Regions from separate parts of the Homo sapiens genome. Here region 2 is linked to region 1. The links are contacts of gene promoters, found by promoter capture Hi-C in blood cells and fetal thymus (Javierre and others, 2016). All regions are on one chromosome and are shown on one strand. Each heading gives the region's core, a stretch centred on a gene start or on the middle of the fragment in contact. The rest is flanking DNA. Distances are from core to core; before and after follow the strand shown.

Evidence for each region. The method cuts DNA at HindIII sites, captures the fragments that hold promoters and counts their contacts. A CHiCAGO score of 5 or more calls a contact.
Region 2: a contact is called between a fragment that was not itself captured here and the fragment with the promoter of CWF19L1 in region 1, in 1 of 17 cell types (fetal thymus). The highest score is 5.1, in fetal thymus.

Annotation. Positions count from the first base shown.
Region 1 is chr10:100,265,318-100,272,536 of GRCh38, forward strand. It overlaps CWF19L1 (CWF19 like cell cycle control factor 1), which reads right to left and starts at 2,321. Exons shown (of 14, transcript NM_018294.6): 1 at 2,254-2,321. The coding sequence starts at 2,276. RefSeq lists an enhancer at 52-301. The HindIII fragment of the contact is 22,053 bases long and covers 1-7,219 here.
Region 2 is chr10:100,875,574-100,882,159 of GRCh38, forward strand. No RefSeq gene overlaps it. Among named protein-coding and RNA genes, the nearest start is that of SLF2, 34 kb to the right of the region's middle. The HindIII fragment of the contact is 2,199 bases long and covers 1,087-3,285 here.

The DNA.
Region 1 (7,219 bases), core at 1,071-3,570:
TGAAAATAATATTTTAATAAATTTAATATAGGTGAAGTGTACAGTATTCATAAAGTCTACAATACTGTAAAGTAATACATTCACTCACCTCTTACTAACTCACTCAGAGAAACTTTCAGTTCTGCAAACTCCATTCATGATAAGTGTCCTACACAGGTTGTGCCCTTTTTTTTTTTCCTGTATACAGTATTTTCTTTTTTTCTTTTTCTTTTTTTTTTTTTTTGAGACAGTCTCGCTCTGTCGCCCAGGCTGGAGTGCAGTGGTGCGATCTCGGCTCACTGCAACCTCTGCCTCCCAGGCTCAAGCCATTCTCCTGCCTCAACCTCTTGAGTAGCTGGGATTACAGGCGCCCGCTACCACACCCGGCTAATTTTTGTATGTTTAGTAGACACAGGGTTTCACCATGTTGGCCAGGCTGGTCTTGAACTTCTGACCTCAGGTGATCCACCCACCTCGGCCTCCCAAAGTGTTGGGATTACAGGCATAAGCCACCACACCCGGCCAGGTGTTTTCACTGTACCCTTTCTATATTTAAATACAAAAATGCTTACCATTGTGTTACAATTGCCTACAGTATTCAGTACAGTAACTTGACGTACAGCTATACCATTTAGCCTAGGTGTACAGGAAGCCATACCATCTAGGTCTCTGGAAGTACACTCAAAGATGTTCGCACAATGACGAAATCGCCTACCAACTCATTTCTCAGAACATAACCCTGCTGTTAAGCAATGGATTACTCTTATTTCCCAAGGCTCAATCCTAACATTCTCGGGAAGCCTTCTTGACTCCTATCATTAAGCCAAATACCCCTCTTATGCACTCTCCCAGATTCACGAATATTTTCTTCCCAAAAGTTACCACTATTGCAATTTTTTTTTTTTTTTTTTTGAGACAGGGTTTCAATCTGTCACCCAGCCTGGAGATCAGCAGCACGATCACAGCTCACTGCAGCATCGACCTCCCCAGGCTCAGGTGGTCCACCTGCTTCAGCCTCCCAATTAGCTGGGACCACCACGCCCGGCTAATTTTTTTTTTTTTCTGTATTTTTTGTAGAAACGGGGCCTTGCTATATTGCCCAGGCTGGTCTTGAATTCCTGGACTCAAGTGATTCTCTTGCCTTGGCCTCCGGAGTCGCTGGGATTATAGGCGTGAGCCACTGCGCCTGGCCCTATCACTATGGTAACTTTACATTTATCTGAATTCCTTTTTTTTTAGACGGAGTCTCACTCTGTTACCTAGGCTGGAGTGCAGAGGTGCAGTGTCGGCTCACTGTGCAACCTCCGCCTCCGGGTTCAAGCGATTCTCCTGCCTCAGCCTCCCAAGTAGCTGGGATTACAGGCACGCGCCACCACGCCTGGCTAATTTTTTTTTTTTGTATTAGTAGAGACGGGGTGTCACCACGTTGGCCAGGCTGGTCTCGAACTCCTGACCGCAAGTGATCCGCCCGCCTCAGCCTCCCAAAGTGCTAGGATTACAGGCGTGAGCCACCGCGCCCGGCCATTATTTGTATTGTTTTTTGTTTGTTTTGTTTTGTTTTGTTTTGTTTTGAGAGTCTCGTTCTGTCGCCCAGGCTGGAGTGCAGTGGCGCGATCTCGGCTCACAGCAACCTCCGCCTCCCGGGTTCAAGCGATTCTCCTGCCTCAGCCACCGCGCCCGGCCCATTATCTGGATTCTTTAGTACCTGTTCCTCTAGACTCTACGCTCCATTAAAGCAGGAACTCCATCTGTTGCAACACCTAGCACAGCGTCCGGCACACTGCAGTTCTTCAATAAATACTTGCTGCATGAAGCCCTCTCTTCACCACCACCCCCACCCCTCCTCCTCGCAAAAAAAAAAAAAAAAAAAAAATGCCCCAGGGAAGGGTCCCTATCTACTCTGTCCACCACTGCCCAGGGCCCATCAGTGGGCCCAATGGCTATTTGGCGAGTAAATAAATGGGGTCAGGAGAAACGAAGGGGAAAGGATGTGTCAGAGGCCAGGACTGCCCCCTAAGATGGAGGAGGCCTAACTCTGGGAGCTTCCGCCTCTCCGAACGAGCGTCGCCAAGAGAAACCCCCTCAGAAGCGAAAAGGGCCAGGAAAAGAGGTCAGCCCCGGCCAGGCAAAGACATCACCTAAGCTCCCCAGCAGCCCCGTGTCTCTCCGCCTTTTCCTTCTCCCTTCCCGTCATGGGAAAGACTCCCGCCCGTGTCGTCACCTACACACACGAAAGAGACACAGGGAGAGAGGCTTCCATTCACGGTCACTCACAGGCGCAGCGGTTTCTGTGCCATCTGTCCGAATAGTATGGGTTGCGACTGCCACCTAAAATTGGGAATGCGAATCCGCGCTCCCCGGAAAAATGCGACCGCGCAACAATCAGACGTCAGCGCCCTCCAGCCAATAACGGTTCACTTACTTACGGAGACCGCCGAGGGACAGAAGCCTCTCTCAGGTGTTTGCGCCTCAAGGAAGAATCAAGAGGGAAAGGGAGGAACGAAGGGAGAAAGAGAAAGTGACCGAAAGGATTCCAACTATGATTTTTTAAATTAAATTTCAGAGCACTTGAAGCGAATGAATGGCTAGGAAGTACAGAGCACAATGTCGGGTTCTAACCTAACCTAACCTAACCTAACCTAACCTAACCATATCGGTCTAGTGGGCAAGACAGACCCCCTCTATCCACGTTTTTTGTAAGTTTTTAACCTATCAAAAAGTTAAGAGGCCGGGCGTGGACGCTCACGCCTATAATCCCAGCACTTTGGAAGGCTGAGGCGGGCGGATCACTTGAGGTCGGGCGTTCAAGACCAGCCTGGGCAACATGGTGAAACCCCGTCTCTTCTAAAAATACAAAAATTAGCCGGGCATGGTGGAGAATTGCTTCAACCAGGGAGGCGGGGGTTGCAGTGAGTCAAGATCGCGCCATTGCACTCCAGCCTGGACAACAAGAGCGAAACTCCGTCTCAAATTAAAAAAAAAAAAGTTAAAAGAATAATGGCTATTACCTTGATTCAGTAAGTCTCAGCATGTTGGCAAATTTGCTTGTGTTCTCTTTCTCTCAAAGTGCCCAAGCCCTTCCATTCTCACTCAATCATTTGAAAGTAAAGTACAGGCCGGGCGCAGTGGCTCACGCCTGTAATCCCAGCACTTTGGGAGATCCAGACCATCCTGGCTAACACGGTGAAACCCCCTCTCTACTAAAAATACAAAAAATTAGCCGGGCGTGGTGGCACGCACCTGCAGTCCCAGTTACTCGGGAGGCTGAGGCAGGGGAATCGCTTGAACCCAGGAGGAGGAAGTTGCAGTGAGCCGAGATCGCGCCACTTCACTCCAGCCTGGGCGACAGAGCGAGACTCCGTGTCAAAAAATAAAATAAAATAAAGTGCGGACAACAGGAATACATCTCCATTTATCTCCTAAGATTAGGATATCCTCCTACATAACCGTAATACTATTAACACAGCTAAGAAAATTAACATTAATTATTCAATAATATTACCTAATATACATCCATATTTAAAGTTCTCCATATTTCCCTACAAACTGATTTTATATTTGGGGCTTGTTTTGATTCAGATGCAATCAAGTTTCACACTTGCATTTGGTTCTGTCTCTATTTTAATCTACAAAAGCCCTCCTACCTATTTGGTTTTAGTTTTTGTAATATTGACTTTTTTGAAGGGTTCAGGCCAAGTGGTAGGAAACAAGTGTGTAAGGAAATGGAAACAAGAGAGAGTTCCTGACGACTGCGGGGAAAGGAAGACTCATCAAGGGCATCTAAATAATTCAAAATTAATAAAACATAAGATTAAAGAAGAACTACAGGCCAGGCACAGTGGCTCATGCCTGTAATCCCAGCACTTTGGGAGGCTGAGGCGGGAGGTTCACTTGAGAACAGGAGTTCAAGGCCAACCTGGGCAACATAGCCAGACCTCGTCTCTACTACAAATTTAAAAAGAAAAAAAAAAAAGTTAGCTGGGCATGGTGGCCGTATGCCTGTACTCCCAGGTACTCCAGAGGCTGAGGTGGGGAGATCACTTGAGCCCAGGAGATGGAGGCTTCAGCGAGCTATTACCTTGCCACTGCACTCCAGCCTGGGTGACACAGCAAGCCCTGTCTCAATAACCAAACAAAACTACAAAGTTCTGGCTTTTCCCACAGCCTACAAGCCTTCTTTTTTGTTTGTTTCTTGCCTCATAACTGGTGGCTCTGCTTTGCTGGCACATAAGCATGCATTTTTTCCTACTCTTTGGATAATACAGCACTGCCCAGGAGTAGCACTCAAGACTGAATCTTGAAGAAGAGTAGAAGTTTGCCAAACATGAGCAGGTAATAATTCCCAGAAGAGGATACAAAAGTAAGACATAAAAACTCATCGTATTGAAAAATCAAAAGACTCCACGAAAAAGACTGTTAGAAATAATAAACGAATTCAGTAAAAGTTTCAGGATACCAAATCAACATACAAAAATCAGTAGCATTTATATGCACCAACAGTAAACAATCTGAAAAAGAAATCAAAAAAGCAATCTCATTTACAACAGCTACAAAGAATATAAACTACGTAGGAATCAATTTAACTAAAGAAATGAAAGATCTATACAAGGAAAACTATACAATACTGATGAAAGAGGACACACACACAAAAAGGAAAGATATTCCACGCTTATGGATTAGAAGAATTAGGCGGGCAGATCACGAGGTCAGGAGATCGAGACCTTCCTGGCTAACACGGTGAAACCCCGTCTCTCCTAAAAATACAAAAAAATTAGCCAGGCGTGGTAGCGGGCGCCTGTAGTCCCAGGTACTCGGAAGGCTGAGGCAGCAGAATGGCATGAACCCGCGAGGCAGAGCTTGCAGTGAGCGGAGATCCAGCCACTGCACTCCAGCCTCTAGCCTGGGCAACAGAGCGAGACTCCGTCTCAAAAAAAAAAAAAAGAAAGAAAGAAAAAAGACAACACTACCTAAAGCAATTTACAGATTCAGTCCAATCCCCATCAAAATACAAATGGCATTCTCTAGATAGAGCAAGGATCCCCAACCCCCGGGCTATGGACCAGTACCCATCAGAAACCAGGACGCACAGCAGGAGGCGAGCGGTGGGCAAGTGAGAATAACCGCCTGAGCTCACTTCCTATCAGATTAGTGGTGGCATCAGATTCTTACAGAGGCTGGAACCCTATTGTGAACTGCACATGCGAGGGTTCTACGGCGCTGCGTACCTTACAAGAATCTGATGCCTGATGATCTGAGGTGGAACAGTTTCATCCCCAAACCATCCCCCCATCCCTACTTTCAGCTCTCTTTTTCTAATGTAAATGTCATGTACGAGCGTTTGTTTTTTTTGTTTTGTTTTGTTTTGTTTTTGTTTTTGTTTGAGACTGAGTCTCGCTCTGTCGCCCAGGCTGCAGTGCAGTGGCGCGATCTACGCTCACTGCAAGCTCCGCCTCCCGGGTTCACGCCATTCTCCTGCCTCAGCCTCCAGAGTAGCTGGGACTACAGGCACCCGCCACCATGCCTGGCTAATTTTGTTTTTGTATTTTTAGTAGAGACGAGTTTTCACCGTGTTAGCCAGGATGGTCTCGATTTCCTTGACCTCGTGATCCGCCCGCCTCGGCATCCCAAAGTGCTGGGATTACAGACGTGAGCCACCGCGCCCGGCCACAATAGTTTTATTTGACGTCAGGACTGTTTTGTAGACCGAGGTGTGATAGATGTGGCACGCACCAGCCACGGTTTCCACCGTCCCCAGAGCGTGGAGAGGCAGCGCCACTGCTCTCAAGGTTAATGACAACTCAATAAAGCACTGCTTTTATTTTTTGCAGTCTTCAATTTGAGAAAGGCCAGAAATAATGTTTTCAATAAATATGGTTCATACCATTAAAAAAAAAAATCCCCCCGCGTCCACGGAAAAATTGTCTTCCATAAAAGCGGTCCCTGGTGCCAAAAAGATTAGGGACTGCTGCTCTACAGAAATAGAAATAGAAAAAACAATCCTAAAATCTATATGGAACCACAAAAGACCCCAAAGAGCCAAAGCAATCCTGAGCAAAAAGCACAAAGCTGAAGGCATCATACTGCCCAACCTCAAAATCTACTACAAAGCTATGGTAACCCAATCAGTATGGTACTGACATAAAAATAGACACATAGACCAATGGAACATATATAAATCCATGCATTTACAGCCAACTCATTTTATGTCAATACCAAAAGTACAAAGGTGCCAAGAACATTCAATGAGGAAAGGACAGTCTCTTCAATAAATGATTCTTGGAGAACTGGATAGCCCTATACTGAAGAATGAAACTCAACTCTATCTCTCACCATATACAAAAATCGCATCAAAATGGATAAAGACTTAAACCTAACACATGAAACTATGAAGCTACCAGAAGAAAATACTGGAGAAATGTTCCAAGATATTGATCTGGGCAAAAATTTTTTGTATAAGACTTCAAAAGCACAGGCAACAAAAGCAAAAATAGACTAATAGGATTATATCAAACTAAAAAGCTCTGCACAGCAAAGGAAACAATCAACAAAGTGAAGAGGCAACCCACAGAATGGAAGAAAATATTTGCAAACTATCCATCTGACAAGAGATTAATAACCAGAATAAATATAACAAGGAGCTCAAACAACTCAATAGCGAAAAAAACCCACAAAAAATCCTGTCTAAAAATGGGCAAAGCCATATGTGGTGGTGCTTGCCTGTAGTCCCAGCTACTCAGGAGGCTGAAGCAGGAGGGTTTTTTTGGGGGAGGGGGAGGGGGTGGGGAGATGGAGTCTCACTCTGTCACCCAGGTTGGAGTGCAGTGGCACAGTCTCAGCTCACTGCAACTTCCACCTCTGGGGTCCAGGTGATTCTCCTGCCTCAGCCTCCCAAGTAGCTGGGATTACAGGTGCTCACCACCATGCCTGGCTAATTTTTTGTAGTTTTAGTAGAGATAGGGTTTCACTATGTTGGCCAGGCTGGCCTTGAACTCCTGACCTCAGATGGTCCACCTACTCAGCCTCCCAAAGTGCTGGGATTACAGGCCTCAGCCACTATGCCCAGTCCCAGGAGGACTGTTTGAGCCCAGTTTGATTCCAGCATGGGCAACATAATGAGAACTCATCTCTTAAAAAAACAAAGCGGGGGGAGCAAAAGATCAAAATAGACATTTCTCAAGACATACAAATGGCCAACAGCTATAAGAAAAAATGCTCAACATCACCAATCATCAGAGAAATG
Region 2 (6,586 bases), core at 936-3,435, 610 kb after region 1:
GCTGAGAATCTTCTTCATTCAGTTTTGGCCTTGAGTCTCATCTCCACAAATTAGCTAGTTTGAGCCTTAGTTTCTGGTCAGAGCAACCCTGGATTACCATTTAGGTGGCTAATTCCTTTTGCAGATAACTGACAATGTATCAGCCTCTGGTTAACGGGAGTGCACCCCACTTCATGAAAACCCATCCCTTTGGAAATAACCAATCACACACTGGTTGTTTTTAACAGCCCCTGATGTTTGTTGAATGAAAAAGTGTGGCAGATTGGGCAGCCCTCTCCAGGCTGAAGAATTCACAAAGGATATCAAAGTACCAGATCAAAGGGCAAGCAAACATCCCTTACAGGACCTACAGAAGCCCTTGGTTAAAAATCAACAAGAGGTGATTGGATGTAAGATAAGGGCCCTTCAAACTCACAACACGAACCCACTAGACGTCTACACTTGGGGTCCTTAAGGGAGCTGGGGGTGGGGAATGTGGACAGCAGGGGGCCCAGTGAGGCCTGAATTTAGCTCTTCCATGTGGAGGGCCAGCTCCCTTCTTGGCAGTGTGTATGCTGTGCGGTGTTTGCACCTTCAGGTTCAGGACAGAATTTGTGTTTCATGCCAGATGTTGAATGGTGTTATTATAGTTATTAGCAATTATGTTTTATCATAAAACCACTTTTCCTTTAAGTATGTGGGTAAAAAAATTCAGCTCTTCTTGGAGTTCTATCCAGTCTATTCCTCTTGGAGATGACTTCAAGTTTTATAATACAAGTCCATAGGCAAATGGGATTCAAGCCCTGGACATTCGCAGGAGTCCCTCTTGGAAACTTAACCATTTCAAGCAGAGAGAAGCCGCTACACTGCTGGGGTCCAGACGGCTGTCCTATGCAGGGAGGTTGCGCTCCAAAGGTACTGCACAGTGTCAGTGCTCCCTCCCTATACCCCTCACCTGTCCCCTCCCCCAACCTTCAACCTCACCAATGCAGTCACTGGGGATCCTGACCCAAGGATGCCTCCCCCTTCTCCATGCCCCCACCCCCATCCCACCCGTGCCCCCACCACAATGTCTACGAGGGAGACCGGCTCCTCTTGGGGCCTTCAAGCTTTTGTTAGGGTTATGTGAGCCACTAGTGACAAGGGCCCTGAAACCCAACTCGACCAAACTCATAAAAGGGGTCACTGTCTCTTTAATTAAAGTTCCCTGTTTGGAGGTTAAAGACAAACCCGTTTGATGGTGCAGGTGTGTAGAGTGGGGGTGGGGGAGAAGGGTGGAAGCGGCTAGAGGAAAACAGAATTCTATCCTTAGAGGGAAGTAGGGAGGGGCCTCACCAGGGGCAGGCTGGCCGAGCGATGGAAAGTCTGATGGGGGTCCCTGAGGGTCCCCAGTGTGGCAAGGGTCACAAGGGGGAGAAATCAGGCAAGAACCGGGAATCCCAGGGCCAGTGCAGCGAGCTCTGACTCCCCTGCGGGCATGCACATGCTCCTGGCCCATGCACACACTACCTGCCCTCCATGATGCCCGACTGACCACTCCCCTTGCCCACTCTTCCATCCCTCCCTTTTCCATCCCAAAAGTTCTCCAATAAAAGAGGACCCAGGGCCTAATACCATCTCCCCACAGAAGCAACTTCATCACAGTTTAACATAAAAAGATCAGCTGGTATCGACCCGTAATTTGGACCCATGCCACGCTATTGGCAGGAAGACAGAATAAGTTAGGGTGGCCATGTTTCAAAAATTCTCTGTGTGCACTCAATCACGGCCCAGGGAAGGCGGGTGGGTGCGTAATAACCCAGCCGCGCTCTCCATTTCCCCTGTAGATCAATGCTAATACCAGGAGGCCCCGGAAGATGGATGGAACCGACAGGAACCTTGAAATCCCGACACGGGGGCTGGTGCCTCAACCGATAAAGGATTTCTTCACTGCTACTGGGGCAGGGACACTGAAACCTTAGGGGCCATGGGAAGACAGTCTGATTGGGGACAAAGAGATGAGGAGAGGGAGCAGCCTCTTCTTTATGCTCACTGACACCCTTAGTCACTCACGTGGCCACTGACCGATGCTCGCTCCAGAGTCACTGACAGGCACGCCAACCGCGGCACACACCATCGCTCACACTGTACCCAGCCAAAAGCACCAACGCCTCCCCAAAGACACCTCGACTCCCTGCAGTCCCACAAATGGGTCCCTGTACACACGTGTACACATGCATGTACACAAACTCAAACCTCAACACCAGAATGAATCAAGGTATCTGACACAGGCACACTTACCTAGGGAGATACAGACACATCCAACCATTGACATTACACCCCGTCCCCGTGAAGCAAAAAGAGATGTGCATCTACATGCATATGTACTTCTCTGTCTCTCCCTCCTTCCTTTCCATGCCTTCCTTCTTCCCATTTCCTTGTGATTCTGTTTGGAAACTTGCAGGCTGATGGTCAGTCAGGGAACTTTCCAGGACCCATTGGATGTAAATCACTAACACAAAAGTACACCAGGCACACAGTCCTGGTCAACCAGACTCCCAGATGGGTGCACACACATGCTGCAAAGTGGGAGTCCTGGGTTCCAGGAACAGCTCAACATGGACTTGCTGTGTGGCCTTGGACAAGCCATTTCCTCTCTCTCTCTGGGCCTCTGTTTCCTCATCTATAAAACAACAGGTTGAACTGGGAGATTTCGAAGGGCCCTTTCAGGTCTGAATTTCTCTGTCTATTGTGGCAGACACAAATTCCTGCCAAGAGTTGCACACAAACGCAGGCAGCCCTGAGCACTCACACTGGCTGTGGTGGCCTGAAGCCACACCCACAAGGACACACAGGGGAACACAGGCACACAGGGCTCTTCCCAGCAAGGGTGCCTGCAATAGGGGCAGCAGCTCCCATCCTTCCCAGAGCTGGAAGTCAAGGAGCCTCAGAACCCACTCTTCTGGGAGCAAAGAACTGGGGACAAAGTAGAGAGATGGAGCATTGTTGTGAGTTTGAGTGGGGGACAGAGGGGGCCTTTCAGGCTGCTGTCTGATTTCCTTCCTTTTGAGCTCAGTCCCAGGACTGGAGCCATTTCCACAGCCTCGAGCTGACATCTTGTGGCCATCTCCAATGATTGCAGGCTTCACAAGGAGACACTCAGTCCCCTGCAGAGAAGCATAGCCCTGCCCAACCCAGAAAGTCGTTGGCAGAACACTGCTTCCCATCCCTGATGCCCTGTCCTATGCCCAGCTGCCAGGAAAGGCACAGGGGCTGACTTGTTCCTCCAGCGCGGACAGGTAGAATACAGGGGGCTACCTTGGGAAAAGCTTCAGGGTTACTGGGTGACAAAAGGGACTGGAAAAAAAATGGATGCTTAAGGGAGCTGCAGCCTGTGGTAGAAATGTAGTCCCACATTCCCACAGCCTCAGTCTAAGGTAAGGAAACATGGCCCAGGCCCAGGGGACTGCAGTCTAGGGAGGCGACACAGCCTTTCCCCAGGGATCTCCAGGTGAAGGAAGAGACTCAGCCCTGGCCTCCTGGAAGCCCAGTCTGATGGGAGGCATTTGGCCCTCCTCACAGACAGCCTTAGCTTTAGGGGAAGAGGGGAAGGGGAGAGACATGGCTCTGCCCTAATGGATCTTCTCATCTTAAGGAGAGAAAAACCTCAGCCCACAGCAGTGACCTCAGTCCTATCCGAGGAGTATGGAATTTGGGGGCTTGGAAGCCCCCAGCTATCTCAGCTTCCCATGCCAAGCCCTAATCTGGTAGTCTGAAAGGAACATGATTTCCATGCCTGCATCAGCAGCCTGGGGCTGGGCAGAGGGTTGGAGCAGAAGTTTTGGGGAAGTGGGCCATCCAGAGCCAGCCCCATTGATTCTGGAGAGACCTACTGGGCAGGGGTGGGGGGTGCATGGCAGGGGAGGACCACACTTTGCAGATCCTCCCAGAGGAAGCCATGATGGAAGTCCCTGGACAACCCTGGGCCAGTTCCTCCTACTAGCCAGAGCCTCCTGCCACCTCTGGAGCCAGGTCTTAGGACCCTGGAGATGACAAGTCACACACAAGGCAGAGGCCAGGGGTTCCCAACCTGGAACCAGGGAACCCTGGAGGTGCTGGGTTGATGAGTTTGTTATAAATTAGAGACTCGTTAAGAGAAGGTGAGAAGGGCTCAGTAACAGCTTTCGGGGTCCATCTTTTCGATTTCTTGTTCGGTTTGTTTATTGCTATTGTTCCTGTCTCATAAGCTTATTGCAAAACCAGTAAAAATGATCTATTCCGAAAGGGAAGTTGCTCTTTTGACTGGAAGCTGCCTCTTGGTCCTGGACCCCACCCCTCCCCCTCCTGGTGGCTGCAGCCTAGCCTGGTTGACCAGCTGTCTCCTGCCGCGGGGTCAGCAGAGGGTGCCAGATTCCTGCTCACTAGAAACTGTGTCCACCTGCCATGTAGCCACCCTGGGCTGGCCTCAGGCCTCCAACCTGGTCCCATCACCCCGATGACCGCTGCACCCCAGCCGTCCAGCTCACCTCTGATAGACACACCAGGGCTGTTATGGGGGAACAGGAGGCCAGGATAGGATCCAAGGACAGTCACTGGAGTCTTAAGTTTTGGGCGTGATTTTGGCTCAGTTTCCCCTCTGCGCCTCAGTGAGTGTTTGCCTTTAGCATGGGCTTCCCTGCCATGAGGTAGCCCTAAGGGCTAATGATTGAACAAAGAGGCCTCCAAGGTTCCCAAGAATCAGAAGTCCTGGTTTTGACCTTGAAGGCAGAACAGAGACCCCTGGCCCTTTGCACATCCAGGAACCTAGTTACAGTTGGGGGCCAGGGGTTCAGGAATCCCAATCCCGAATGAGTTGGCTCTCACCCCATCCCTGTTCTGCAAATAACATTAGTTCCGTTTAGTGACTGTAATATTCCTGAGACACTGCAGATTTCTCTGGGCTACTAACTTGGTTTCAGAGTCTTTCAGATGATTATTGTGGGGAGTACAGGGTTGAGGGGGATCAAGAAAAAGCCAACAGACTCCTTCACTGATTCATACAGAATTTCAGAGCGTCAGAGCCTGAAGAGACTTCTTTTTTTTCCCCCCTGAGATGGAGTTTAGCTCTTGTCGCCCAGGCTGGAGTGCAATGTGCAATCTCGACCCACTGCAACCTCTGCCCCCCAGAATAGCTGGGATTACAGATGCCCACCACCATGCCTGGCTAATTTTTTTTTTTTTTTTTTAGATCGTGCCTCGTTCTGTCGCCCAGGCCACGTCTGGCTAATTTTTATATTTTTAGTAGAGACGGGGTTTCACCATCTTGCCCAGGCTTATCTTAAACTCCTGACCTCGTGATCCACCCTCCTCAGCCTCCCAAAGTGCTGGGATTACAGGTGTGAGCCACCATGCCTGGCCGCGAAGGGACTTCTGAGATCACTCTGTGAAACCCCTTCCTGCCTCAATACAGAATCAGGGTCAGAGACCTGAAGTGACTTGGCCAAAGTCCCACAGCCAGTGAGTGGCAGAGCCAGGATGGGAATCCAAGGTGACAGACCCTTGCACCACTGCCCTTTATGGCGCCCTGCCCAGCATCTTCCTGTGTCCTGCTCATGTCAGCAAGCTCTGCCTCCTTCCTCACAAGCCAGTCCCTGCAGCCAGCACAGGTAACAGACCTTCCTTTCCCTCCCTGCTGTCTAACATCAGGCCTATTTTCTCTAAAGCAAAATCGGTCTGTTTCCCCAAGGCTGACACACTGGCTCTGCCAGAGGGCCCAGATAAGGGGAAAACCTTGCACGGCGGCCTTTGGAGTTTCCCTGTCACTTCAAAGAGCTAACATCAACACACTCTTCCTTTATCTATTTATTTTGGACAAGGAGGACAAGAGGTGAAGACGGGTAGGAAACAGTCAAAGTTGTCAGGAAGACCATCTCAAGGACTTGGCACATCTTCAGAGAGAAGCACATCAATGTTTTCCCTTGATCTCTGTTTGTTTATGTTAACAAACACTCAATATAGTGCTTGCTGCATGTCAGGCACTATTCTAAGCACTTTGTATATTCATTTATTAGTTTAATTTTATATTAACTTATTATATATCATATAATTAATTTACTAAATCTTCTTAATAACCCTGAGGTAGGTACTGTTATTAGTTCCACTTTACAGATGAGGAAAGTGAATCACAGAAAGGCAAGAAGCTTGCCTGAGGCCACGTAGCTAATGGCAGAGTCACCATTCAAAGCCAGGCAGTCTGGCTCTTACCCACGGGGCTAGGATCCTTCTCTTTATAGAAGCATCAGCACAAGCGTTGGTAGGGCCCCGTGACCAGGAGAGGAAGGAAGATTCTGAACATTCAGAAAAAATCAGACATTGTTGGGGCCCTGTACAGTGTTCCCTGGAGCTTATCTCTTGTTAATTACTGTCATGGCCTCTTCTGTCCTTAGCTTGTTTGAAAGCCAATGTTTTATGGTTGGGGTGACCAAGGGAAGCATAGGCAGCCTGGACCTTGGGCCCCTCCCACACTAGCCCCATTCTGGGGAGGCTTCTGGGTTCTGGAAGCCAGGGCAGGAGTGTGGTGCTAGCACCCACTGCCTTGTTGCTCACAGAGCCCTGCTCCCTCCCACGCAGCTGCCTGCACTGACATCTC